Regions from separate parts of the Homo sapiens genome. Here all the other regions are linked to region 1. Evidence: promoter capture Hi-C in human tissues and cell types (Jung and others, 2019). All regions are on one chromosome and are shown on one strand. Each heading gives the region's core, a stretch centred on a gene start or on the middle of the fragment in contact. The rest is flanking DNA. Distances are from core to core; before and after follow the strand shown. Region 1 holds the start of ZNF337 (zinc finger protein 337). Region 2 overlaps ENTPD6 (ectonucleoside triphosphate diphosphohydrolase 6). Region 3 overlaps ABHD12 (abhydrolase domain containing 12, lysophospholipase).

Region 1 (4,099 bases), core at 1,061-3,560:
ACCAATGGAACAGAGTGGAGAGCCCAGAAATAAATCCACACATTTATAGTTCAACTTATATCCCACAAAGGTGCAAAGAACTTACATTGGGGAAAGACAGTCATTTCAATAAATGGCACTGCAAAAACTGGATATCCATTTGCAGAAGAATGAAATCTAAAGCAATCCCCTCACCACATATAAAAATCAAATCAAAATGGATTAAAGGTAAATCTAAGACCTGAAACTATAAAACTACTAGAAAAAAACATTGGGGAAACACTCCAGGACATTGGTGTGGACAAAGATTTCTTGAGTAAGACTGCAAAAGCACAAGCACCTAAAGCAAAAGTGGACAAATGAGACCACATCACATAAAAATCTTCTGCAAGCAAAGGAAACAATCAACAAAGTGAAGTGACAATCCACAGAATGGGAGAAAAAATTTGCAAACTATCCATCTGAAAAGAAAGTAATTGCCAGAATATATATAAGGAGCTAAAACAACTCAATAGGAAAAAGACAATCTGATATTTTAAATGGAGAAAAGATCTGAATAGGCATCTCTCAAAATAAGATATATGAACGGCCAACAAGTGTATGAAAAAAAATGCTCAATGCCACTAATCATCAGAGAAATGTAAATCAAAACCGCAATGAGATATAATGTCACCCCAGTCAAGATAGCTTTTATTCAAGAGACAGGCAATAGTGAATACTGGTGAGGGTGTGGATACACCCTCATACACTGTTGTTAGGAATGTAAATTAGTACAACCACTATGGAGAGCAGTATGGAGGTTCCTCAAAAGAATTAATAAATATATACATGATCCCGCAATCCCACTGCTGAGTATATATCCAAAAGAAAGGAAATCAGTATTTCAAGGATATATCTGCACTCTCATGTTTACTACAGCACTATCCAAAATAGTAAAGATATAGAATCAAAGTGTCTATCAACAGATGAATGGATAAGGAAAGTGTGGTACATTAACACAATGGGATATTAGCCAGTCATTAAAAGAATGAAATTCTGTCATTTTCAATAGCATGTATGAAAATGGAGGACATTATGTTAAGCGAAATGAGGCACAGCATGACAAATATCACATGTGCTCACTCATTTGTGGGGCTAAAAACGTGAACTCATGGAGATGGAGAGTAGAATGAGATAGTTAACAGAGGCTGGGAAGGATGGTGGGTAGAGGAGATAAAGAGGGACTTGTTAATCGATACAAAAATACAGTTAGAATGAATAAGATCTAGTAGTTGGTAGCACTATACAGTGACTATAGTTAAGAACAATTTTACTATATATTTAAAAATAAGAGAGAATTGGAAACTTCCTAAAACAAAGAAATGCTAAATGCTTGAGGGGATGGATACCCCAATCACCCTCATTTGACCATTAAACACTGTATGCCTGTATCAAAACATAACATGTACCCTATAAATATGTACAACTAATATTTATCCAGAATAATTAAAAATTTAAAAACCAAAAGAGAAAAAGCAAACAGCAAGTATACCTAGTAAAGGCCTGAAATATAAAGTCTACGTGGTTTGGCAAGCCACAAAAGATATCAGCATATTATACACCCTACATAATGAAAGAATTCTGGCATTGATGCATAATTAGATAAATGGGGGAACAATTAGAAATTGAAATGCAAATGTAAATTGAGTATACTGAATTATGTAGCTGAAACCTTAAATTATTTGGTAAAAGACTATATTTTTAATAAATTTAATGGGAAATTAATAAAATATTAGAAAATTTTAAAAATAATTGTATATTTACAGTGTGTACCTGGAGAAAAATTAAACCATTGAGAGATCTAAATGTGAATGATAAAACCACAAAATCCGTAGGAAAATCAGAGATCAAAAGTACTACATAGCAAAAAAAAGAAACAAAAGAAAAAAAAAAGACATACCCATAATCAAAAGACAGTGGGAAAATTATTTACCTATATCATAGAAATGGGAAAATATGCTTAATGTATGTATAGGGCTACCTAAATAAAAGAAATCGCCGGTTCTGAAAGGATCCCTCCACGTCCAAACGACCATAGGCTCGCCCCACCTGTCAGAGAGGAGTCCTTCCGAGAAGTCCTTCCAAGGATTCCGGGTCGCGCAGTCCCGGGTGGACCGCTATGACCAATATTCTGGGGCGTGTACCTGGACGACTCCCGAGGACTCTGGGGAGTGTAGTCCACCGAGGGGATGCGACGCGCAGGGTCGCATAGCCTCCGGGCCGCGCCGAGGATGCTGGGTAGCGTAGTCCCGGCCGCGCTGAGGATTCTGGGTAGTGTAGTCCCGGGCGGCGCAGAGCGTTCCAGATCCCTGGGCGTCAGCGAGCCGTGAGATGCGTGGTCCACCATCGGTGACCTCACCGCCTCGGTTCGCCCTCAGCCGCCCCGGTGAGCTGCGCTCCTGCGGGTCCCTCTCTGCAGCGCGCCCTTCCGGCGCAGGAAGAAGGGCCGGGAAGGCCTGGGACGTGAGGGCGCTGCTGGGGCCGTAGCGCGCGCTCCTCCAGGCCCGGCGTCTCCGCGTTCTGGGGAGGGGCGGAGACCCAGGCCGCGCCTTGAAGTGGGCGGTGGGGCTGCGGCTTGCCGAGCGCCCCGGGTCTGGGCCGCCACTCAGTCTCCGTTCCCGGTTGCGTGTAGTGGCGGCTCGGGCGGTGAACAGCCCGGATTTCACAGGGGCGCCGAGCAACCCAGGTCCTCTTGTGCCAGGGTCGCCGCTCCTCGGGTGGGGACGGGCCAGCGGCCTAGCGAGCTGCCACGGGGGTCTTTTGGCCGGAGGTGGAGGGGGACTCGGCCACAGCCAGGGTCCACTGGTGGGGTGGGGGTTACAGCCATGAGACGGATGGGCTAGGTCCGACTCGGGTTCCCTCCGACTCTGATGCTCCAGACTTTATTGTGGGAGGCGGGACAGGGGAGGACTTCGCCCGCGTGTTTTGGGGAAGGGCCGCTGCTTTGGGTTGGGAGCACCCCGCCTTGGGACGATCTTCCGCGGATAGGAGTGTAGGCCGGGACCAAATGTCCTCGCACGGGCACGTCTAGACGTGTTTTGGTGGGGGGGGGGGGGGATCTGCGTGGGGCAGCGTCCGCGGGAGGTGAGGTGGCTGTGGGGACCCAGGTGGCCTCTTCCCTGGGGCCTTGCTAATGACGGCAAAATCCGGGTTCTGCCAAAATATATTTAAAAAGGTTTATTCCTAGTCAGTATGAGTGACTGTGGCCCAGGTTATTCAGCCTCAAGAGGTCCTGTGAAAGTGCCCGAGATGGTCAGGCTTGCAGGTTAATTTTATACAATTCAGGGAGACAGGAATTTCAGGTAAAGTCATAAATCAGGCTGAGCAGTGTGGCTCATGCCTGTAGTCCCAGCACTTTGGGAGGCCAGGAGTTCCAGAGCAGCCTGGGCAGCACAGCAAGACCCTGTCTCTACATGAAATTAGAAAAATAAAAAAATTAGCGGGGCGTGGTGTCCCATGCCTGTGGCCTCAGCTACTTGGGAGGCCCAGTCAGTTGAGTCCAGGAGGTGGAGGCTGTAACCAGCTATGTTGGCTGCACTGCACGCTAGCCTGGGTAACACAGCGAGATCCTGCCTCCAAAAAGAAAATCATAAATCAATAAGAGAAAGATATACACGGGTTCCTCCCAAAAAGCTGGTATATCTCCAAAGGGTTTACACCTCATGGGGGCACTTAGGGATTCTTTAGTGGACAGTTGGTTGAGAGACTTAAGCTACTGCCTGAAGACTGGAATCAGAAGCATGCCAGAGTTAAGGGGATTGCGTAGATCAAAGTTCTTATTATGTAGATGAAGCCTCTTAGTTGGCAACTCTCAGAATAGATGGTAAATGTCTGTTTTCAGTTTTTTGGGTTTTTGTGTTTTTGTTTTTGTTTTTAGAGAGAGTCTTGCTCTGTCGCCCAGGCTAGAGTGCAGTGGCGTGATCTCAGCTCACTGCAACCTCCACCTCCCAGGTTTGAGCAGTTCTCCTGCCTCAGCCTCCTGAGTAGCTGGGACTACAGGCGCCCGCCACCACGCCTGGCTAATTTTTGTATTTTTAGTAGAGATGGGGTTTCACCATGTTGCTGAGGCTGGTCTTGACTT
Region 2 (4,099 bases), core at 1,022-3,521, 490 kb after region 1:
AAGTAAATAAAATACACCACTCAGCTTTGGAGACAGCAGCTAGAAATGTCCAGCACCAGCAGAACCGTGCAATGCCAGGATGGTGTCTACCCCACAGGTTCCAGGTCAGCCAAGAAGAGCATGGGACACCCAGGGGACCTGCCTGACAGGGGCTGCAAACTCTCACTGGCTACAGCTAGAGAGACATGGAGGGCGAACCTCAGGGTCACGGGCACGAGAGGGGCATCAGGGAACCAAGGGAAGAGGGTGGTTGGAGAGCAGAGGAACCGGGTGGCGAGGGGGACCCCTCAAGAGAAGCCGCCCACCCCGGCCTGAGGCCCACCCTAGAAGCATAGCCAACGAAGCCCAGGCTCCAGCTCCCTTATCCAGCTGAGACCCCTCTCGGCTGTTGCCCCTGGCCATCTTGGCCCACCTGGCAGCTCCCGGTCAAGCCCAGGAGCCTTTATTATTTATCTGACTTTCCTGATTTTCTGGCTCCCATGGGACTGAATCTGGGGATACTTCCTGCCTGAACTCCCCACAAAGCCCCAAACACAACCACTGGCCTAAATCATGGTCCTAGCCACCTGACCTGCTGGTGAATGTGGGGAGGGGACAGGCCACCAAACACCTCAAGGTCTCAGCTGCCCTTCAGCATGGTCACCACTCACTAGTGTAAGAGTGATCTGGGACTCCCGGGAAATTCAGATGCTTGGACCCCAGCCCATACCAGCGTCAGCATCTCTGGGAAACTGCATTTAGACAAGCTCCCAGGTGAGTCTGTGGCAGGGGACCCGGCCAACACTGTAGCACAGGGGAGGAGATCCCGAGAGCCCTGCCATGAGAGGCGGGTACCTCTGGGGGGCCGGGTGAACTGGAAGACGTGTACTCGGGTGCCAGTGCTTCCTGCATCAAACATGATCCCGTAGAAGACCTCGTGCCCGTCTGCAGCTGTCCCCAGGGGGCTGTGGGCCTGCTGACCCCACCGGGCCCCCGGGGCTGCCCTGGTGATGCTGAAGAAGGCCTGGGTGGCGGTGGCCCGGTGCCACTTGATGTAGGCAACATAGATGAACACGCCCACACACAGCCCCAGGGGGTATGCCACCTTCGCCACCCGCAGGCTCCCGTGGTTGGATATTTTTCTCATCCTTGTTTGCCAAGGACCGTGCTGCGGCTGCTGGTGGGAAGGGGGGAGAGGCAGGAAAAGCACGTTAGGGTGCTAGGATCCAAGGAGAGTCAGACGTCCCCAGGCCCAGGGACAAAATGTTCAACCTGAAACTGCTCCGTGTTCCCCCCAGGAATCAGAAGCTTCATTTGAGCCTCATAATTATTCCAGAAGGTGTGATCCCCATCCTACAGAAGAGGAACTGAGGTTTATAAAGGCAGGACAGCCTGCTCAAGGTCGCACACATTGCAGCTGCTGACCTGGTGCACAGACCACAGTGGCTGGCTCCTCTAAGGGAGGGTCCCACCAGCTTGGGACACATGGCGATTTATGTAAAAGAAGCCACATGTAAATGGTGTTCCCAAACTGTTCATGGGAACAGAAGCGCGTATCTGATTCAGTCTTTCAATCCTCAGTTATACTTCTATTCAGGCAATTTACTTTTCGAAAGGTTTAAACTCCGTCCCTTGGGCAACTACTGAGAGCCCCAGACAAACCTGAAAAATGTAGCTCGTTTTTCTGGAAGTTTCATAACGGATACCTTTTTTCATTCACATAGCCCATTCCTGCCAAGGAGAAAATAATGTCTGTGTACTTCCAAAGCCTACAAAAATTCTACTAGAGTAGCAAAATAAATTCACTGGGTGCCATTGTTTTTGGTTCGATATACCCAAAATGAAAGCATTTGTTCAAGTTTCATTGGCTGCTCCAGTGCGAGGCAGCATGTGGGAACCTGAGGCTTCAAAGGACAAGAAGTGTGGGCCGACTCTAGGGCCCCCAACCTTGGGGAACGTCCATCAGCCTGTCCCTCCCTCACTCTCTCAGTCGGTCCTGGTGAGTGGCCACTCCTAGGGGAGCAGGGATCAGGAGGATGCCGGGCTGGAAGTGGCACCGGCTCTGCCCGCAGCTACGTGTGACAGTGGGCAACATGCCCCTCAAGGGGGCCAGTTTCATCTGCAAGGTGGGGCTGCTCATTGGAGAGCCCCTCGTGACTGTGGGGATTCAATGTGCTCAGAACAGGCTGCAGGGAAAGCACGTGCCACATGCGGGCTTTACAGAAGGGCAGCAGGAGGTGACATCTCTGTGGAACCAAGGACAGCATGGCTGCACTGCTGAGGAGGGGGCAGTAGCAGTCAAAGGAGCAAGCCCGCAGCGACCTGCGCTACCTGAGGCTGTTTGGGCACAGCAGAACGGAAGGACAGGGCCCGCGGGGCAAAGCACGGGGAGCAGGCCATTCCTGGCCCCTCCTTCCTGAGGTCCCGCCTGTGGCCACAGCTGGATATCCTCAGGCCCAGAGAGGTAAGACAAGCACTGCCACAGTGCCCCGTGCCGAGGGGAGAGGCCTCACCAGTGGCCTGGCCACCCACACTGGAGCAGGAGACAGGAAAAACCACCCTTCCCTGAGCATCTGCCACGGGCAGGGCTGCAAAAAGCCTCTCCTGGCAGGTGCCAACGTGCAGCCCCTCCCCAGCCCTATTCTGGGCCTGGGTCCCACCACACTCGGGGGCTTCCCACAGCTCTCAGGATCATGTTGCAGCCTCTGCCTGGGCCTGTCCCTGCCGGCCCCTGTCCCTGCTGGCCCCTGTGGCTTCATCGCACTCCTCTTTCGTCCTTGCCCACAGTGCTCTGAGAACAGTGCCTTCTTCTGCCCCTAGAACTCAGCCTCTCCCTGCCTCAGGCCCCTGGCACAGACTGATACGCATTCCCAGAATACTTGTCCCACCACACTGGCACCGTGTCTTCATTCTGAAACCTCCACTGAAATGTCACTGCCACCCCCTTCCCGGATGCCCCCAACCTGCACATGCCCCATCACGCACTCTCTGAGCTCCCTTTACCCACCACCAGCAGTGATGAAACCAGTATTCATAGACCTGATTCCTGTAGGTCTGTGTCTCCCCACTAGGCCATGAGCCCCCAGGGCAGGGACTCAGCTTGTCTTGTGCTGCTGCTGCCCAGCATGGCATCCAAGCCCTTCTCTAGAATGGAAGAGGCTGCTCCTCTACCCCCGCACCTTCTATAACGTCACCAGACACACAACAGAGTCCTGTAGAAAATCCATAAACAGGGAGAGGACACAGCAAGACGGCAAAAGAGGAAGCTCAAAGGCCCTTGTTCCCCCACAGAGAAACACTAAAAACAACTAGAGACTGGTTAAAATATTGCATAGGAGCTCTGCAAAACAGGCAACGATCTACAGCAACCAAGAGAATGCCCAGCCCAGAAGCAGCCACATTCAGGATGTCAGGAACTCTGAGGTGTTTCACTCACCCCTGCCCCAGGCCTCCCCAGCATGGCACCACCTGATGAATGCGGCAGCCCGGTTCCCAATTCCTTCCCTTGAACTGGAGGGAGCAGAGCGGACCTTTCTGCAACATCCTAATCTGTCTTGGGCTGCCTGAGGAACAGATCTCTGTTTCACCTGACTCTGAGCTCAGAGCCCAGATAGGAAGTCAGGGAAATGGTTATGGGCACTGCTAGGCAAAGCTGTAGGATGACTATAGCCCCACGCATACCTGGGGCAAGAATGACAGGTGAGAAATACAGTAGAACATCTGAGGCCCAAGGAGGGACTGGGGGAGACTTTGAGAAAGTAAGATATATATATATATATATAAAGCTTTGTAAAAGTTTAATGGAGCCAACAAGGCAAATAAATTGTGTTCCGGCAGACATTAAGACCTGCTTTCTCTTACCAAAAAATAAGGGCACACATTTTTATCAAAATTCGATAATTCAGAGTTAAGGGTACTGAGATTAAGCTTCAAAGCACCAACTTAAACCAAACAGCAATGAAAAATTGGTTATTCAACTTGGAAAGAGGAACTAAAACCAAGGCATAAAGGGGAGATTAAATATGTGTTCCTTGATCTCAAAGTCCTTTTAGGAGCAGGAGTTCTGGCCACATGTGAGCAACACATCACACCACCAAACCCCAATTCCAGAATCTAAATT
Region 3 (4,099 bases), core at 412-2,911, 370 kb after region 1:
CATGGGTTTCTATCCTCAAATACCTATGAGTTTGGTAAATTCCTCTCCTCTTGAGGTCCTAAAATAACTTGGGCCTCCTGGGCCTATTAGAAAGTGACATTCTTTACCACAGGTCAGGAGCCCTGTATGGGGACTGTATAGACAAGTTATGAGGCCAGTTTTACCCACGGGGCTTTTATTGGCGCTATAAGTCCTTTGAATCCTTAAAGGAAAGCAGGCCATTCCAGTCAAAGCCTTGGTAAAATAACCAGTTTCTTCAATTGTTTCCTGTTGCAGAAGAGCCTTCCTTGCTTTCCTTTCTTTCCTTTCTTTCCCTCCCCCCACTCCCTCCCTACCTCTCTCCCTTCCTTCCTTCCTCTCTCTTCTCTTTCTTCCCTTCCCTTCCCTCCCCTCCCCTCCCCTTCACTTCTTTCCTTTCTTTTTTCTTTTCTTTTTTTTTTTTTGGACAGAGTCTCACTCTTTCATCAAGGCTGGAGTGAAGTGGCATGATCTCAGCTCACTGCAACCTCCTCTTCCCGGGTTCAAGCCATTCTCCTGCCTCAGGCTCCCAAGTAGCTGGGATTATAGGTGCACACCACCACGCCTGGCTAATTTTTATATTTTTAGTAGAGACGGGGTTTTGCCATGTTGGCCAGGCTGGTCTCGAACTCCTGACCTCAGGTGATCCACCTGCCTCGGCCTCCCAAAGTGCTAGGTTTACAGGCATGAGTCACCACGCCTGGCTGGCTGCATTTATTTCTTAGGGCCGCTCAAACAAACCTGCAAACTGAGTGGCTTAAAATAAATGTATCCTCTCATGGTTGTGGAGGCTGGGAGTCTGAGGTCGAGGTGTGGGTGGGCCCAGCTCCTCCTGAGATGCTGAGGTGGACCCTTCTTGCCTGTCTGTCTGGCAGCATTCCCGGCTTGGAGAAGCTTCCCTCAAATCTCTGCCTCCATCTTCTCCATCTTCTTGGTCATCTTCTCATGGTCTTCCCTCTGTCTCTGTGTCTAAATGTCCCCATTTTATAAGGATACCAGTCATGTTGGGTTAGTATCCACCCAGTGACCTCATTTGAGCTTGATTACCTCCATAAAGACACTGTTTCCAAGTAAGGTCACACTCTTAGGTACTGGGGGTGAGGCCTTGAACATAGTCTTTTTTGGGGAGCACAACTCAGCCCATAACAGGGCAGGCGGGCCTCCCAGGCCTCTCAGGGGCCAGGCTCATTACCTCCCTGACTTCCTGTCCAGCCAGCCAGGAGGCAGGGCTGTGCAGCCGGGCTGCCGGGTTCAAAGCCAGTTCTTTTTTTTTTTTTTTTTTTTTTTTTTTGAAACAGGGTCTCTCTGTCACTCAGGCTGGAGTACAGTGGTACAACCTTGGCTTACTGCAGCCTTGACCTCCTGGGCTCAAGTGATTCTCCCTCCTCAGCCTCACAAGTGGCTGGGATCACAGGTGCATGTCACCTTACCTGGGTAATTTTTATATTTTTTGTAGAGGTGGGGTTTTGCCGTGTTGCCCAGGCTGGTATCAAAAAATCCAGCTCCGTCATGTGAGCTGGCAATCTAATAGGAGCCATCAGATGGTGATGGTGGTGGCTTGCCTCAGAGACTGTGCAGCCTGGCTCAGCTGGAGCTAATGGGGATGTGGATCATCTCCTTTGCCATTTTTTATTTTGAGAGAAACTTCTTACTAAAATTTTGAAGATGTATCTGCTTCCTGGGAAAGAGATGGAGTAAGAAGGTGGGGTATGAACAGCAGCCCTGGTGGTAGGAACTGTCTCCCCACATGGTCTGGGACAGACGCTCAGGGAGTTTCTGGGAAGGAGTGTGTATGTCCCCATGTCCTCGTGAGTCCAGCCTGGTGACATTTGAGGAAGTGAGGCTAGATGTGCAATGTGCCACATGGACATGGGAGTCACGCAACCCCTGTCTTCACCAGAGACAGCTGTCAGCAGCAGAGCTTCCCCGGGGGCAGGACCCACCAGAGGGAAGCCAGGCCCACACTGCTCTCTGTCATTGCCTCTTTTGGGAGTTGCCATTTTATAAAGCAGGCAAATCCCACCTCAGGGTTCATGCGTTTATTTTAAATTTTTTGTTTTTCAGTTAAACTTATTTTAAAGTTGTGTTCACCAAAAGCAGTAAGACTACAATGGTATATAAGGAAAAAATTGCCCCCATTCTCCCCACACACACACTTTGAAGCTGTGTGAGCAGCCTGGCTTCTGTCTTTCTGTATATCCTCCCAGCCACATGTGGAGGTCGTGTTTCATTTGCATGTTTTTACAATAACAAAGTGGGGCTACCGCACCCGCACCCACAGTCACCTTGCTCCTCTCATCTGCCCGCAGGTCCTGGAGGTTCCTCCAGGTCTAAGGGCCCCATGGTCTTCCACAGTGTGAGGTGCTGGTTAATTCACTCGCTGTCCTGCTGGCAGATGACCTGGTAGATGCAGGACTTCTGCTGGGCCATTGCACTGACTTCATTCTGCTCTGCATGGGTCCTATGGATTCATCCCCCTCGCTGCCCCACACCTCACCTTCTGCTGTCTTTTCTGTGTTAGGCAGCAGTCCTGGAAACTTTGGAATCCCCTTTACCTTGTTTGCCACCCAACGTTCCGTTGGTCATCAGGTCCTGCAGCGCCATCCCCTTTCCTGCTGTCCTTCCCACTCCACCAGGCACCTGAGTTATTCGCAGGCTCAGCCTCCCCAGCCTCCCTCCTGGCTGGCCCATCCTTCAGACCTGTTGGGGATCTTTCCTTCCCTCATTTGCATCTTCTCACACCTAGAATGACCTTAGACCTTAGCGTTCCAGTCTCTACACAGACCTTGCCCTCACTGCAGTCTCTGTCCCTGCCCATGCTGGCTGGCCTCAGCCCATACCCTGCCTGAGGCTGGGCCTGCAGGTCTGGCACCATTGTAAGATTGCACAGGAAAAGGACTTGGTGCTTTCTGAGAGCTTCTGCAGTGTGTGCATGTGGGTGTGCATGTGTGTGTGTGCACGTGTGGATGCATATCTGTGCACGTGTGTGAGTATGCATGTTTGTGTGTACATGTGTGTATTCATCCACCAGTAATCCTAATTTCCATCTCTTTATTTCCTACAGTAAGAGTTCCCTATTTCATTGATTTGAAAAAACCACAGGATCAAGGTTTGAATCACACGTGTAACTACTACCTGCAGCCAGAGGAAGACGTGACCATTGGAGTCTGGTGAGTGCCAGTGAGCTCTGCAGCCCCTCCAGCAGCAGGAAAGGACCCTACATGACTGAGCTGGTGCTGTCTTTGACATTGGCCTCTGAAATGTTGTTCATTTTTATCTTCACCTCTTCCTTTCCTAAAGGAAAGATCTCAGTACATTTGATCCATCCTAATGTTGAGGGATTCAATGGCTTTAAACTCTATTCCCAGCCTTTCAAAACAGCAAAGGCTTTGTGAACAGATTATTATTTTTAGAGAGACTTGTTTCTAGGAAAAACGAAAAGCAAACAAAGAAGCTAGAAACAGGATATAAGTGGCCGGCACAGTGGCTCACACCTGTAATCCCAGCACTTTGGGAGGCTGAGGCAAGTGGATCACTTGAGTCCAGGAGTTTGAGACCAGCCTTGGCGACAAGGTGAAACCCCATCTCTACTAAAAATACAAAAATTAGCCAGGCATGGTGGTGCACACCTGTAATCCCAGCTACTTGGGAGGCTGAGGCAGGAGGATCACTTGACTCCAGGAGGCAGAAGTTGCAGTGAGCTGAGTTCACGCCACTGCACTCCAGCCTGGATGACAGAGCAAGACTCTGTGTCCAAAAAAAAGAGAATATAAGGGAAGAATCACAAACACTGGTTTGAATATATCTTCCATCCAGGCGCGGTGGCTCACGCCTGTAATCCCAGCACTTTGGGAGGCCGAGACGGGTGGATCACTTGAGATCAGGAGTTCGAGACCACCCTAAACAACATGGTGAAACCCCGTCTCTACTGAAAAAAAAATACAAAAATTAGCTGGGCATGGTGGCACGCGCCTGTAGTCCCAGCTACCCGGGAGTTTGAGGCAAGAGAATTGCTTGAACGCAGGAGGCAGAGGCTGCAGTGAGCTGAGATTATGCCACTGCACTCCAGCCTGGGCAACAG

What was found. The method cuts DNA at HindIII sites, captures the fragments that hold promoters and counts their contacts. A contact is called where the count stands out against the background at its distance.
Region 2: a fragment that was not itself captured here is called in contact with the fragment with the promoter of ZNF337 in region 1 in 1 of the 25 tissues and cell types used here (lymphoblastoid cells).
Region 3: a fragment that was not itself captured here is called in contact with the fragment with the promoter of ZNF337 in region 1 in 1 of the 25 tissues and cell types used here (hippocampus).

Annotation. Positions count from the first base shown.
Region 1 is chr20:25,695,064-25,699,162 of GRCh38, reverse strand. It overlaps ZNF337 (zinc finger protein 337), which reads left to right and starts at 2,310. Exons shown (of 5, transcript NM_015655.4): 1 at 2,310-2,404. LOC107985400 (a long non-coding RNA gene) reads right to left here and starts at 2,122. Exons shown (of 2, transcript XR_007067557.1): 1 at 2,000-2,122. RefSeq lists an enhancer at 2,797-2,906. The HindIII fragment of the contact is 16,641 bases long and covers 1-4,099 here.
Region 2 is chr20:25,204,133-25,208,231 of GRCh38, reverse strand. It overlaps ENTPD6 (ectonucleoside triphosphate diphosphohydrolase 6), which reads right to left. Exons shown (of 15, transcript NM_001247.5): 2 at 1,642-1,710; 3 at 835-1,156. The coding sequence starts at 1,695. Among named protein-coding and RNA genes, the nearest start is that of ENTPD6, 10 kb to the right of the region's middle. The HindIII fragment of the contact is 3,524 bases long and covers 510-4,033 here.
Region 3 is chr20:25,322,414-25,326,512 of GRCh38, reverse strand. ABHD12 (abhydrolase domain containing 12, lysophospholipase) reads left to right here. Exons shown (of 13, transcript NM_001042472.3): 3 at 3,083-3,188. Among named protein-coding and RNA genes, the nearest start is that of ABHD12, 66 kb to the left of the region's middle. The HindIII fragment of the contact is 7,604 bases long and covers 1-4,099 here.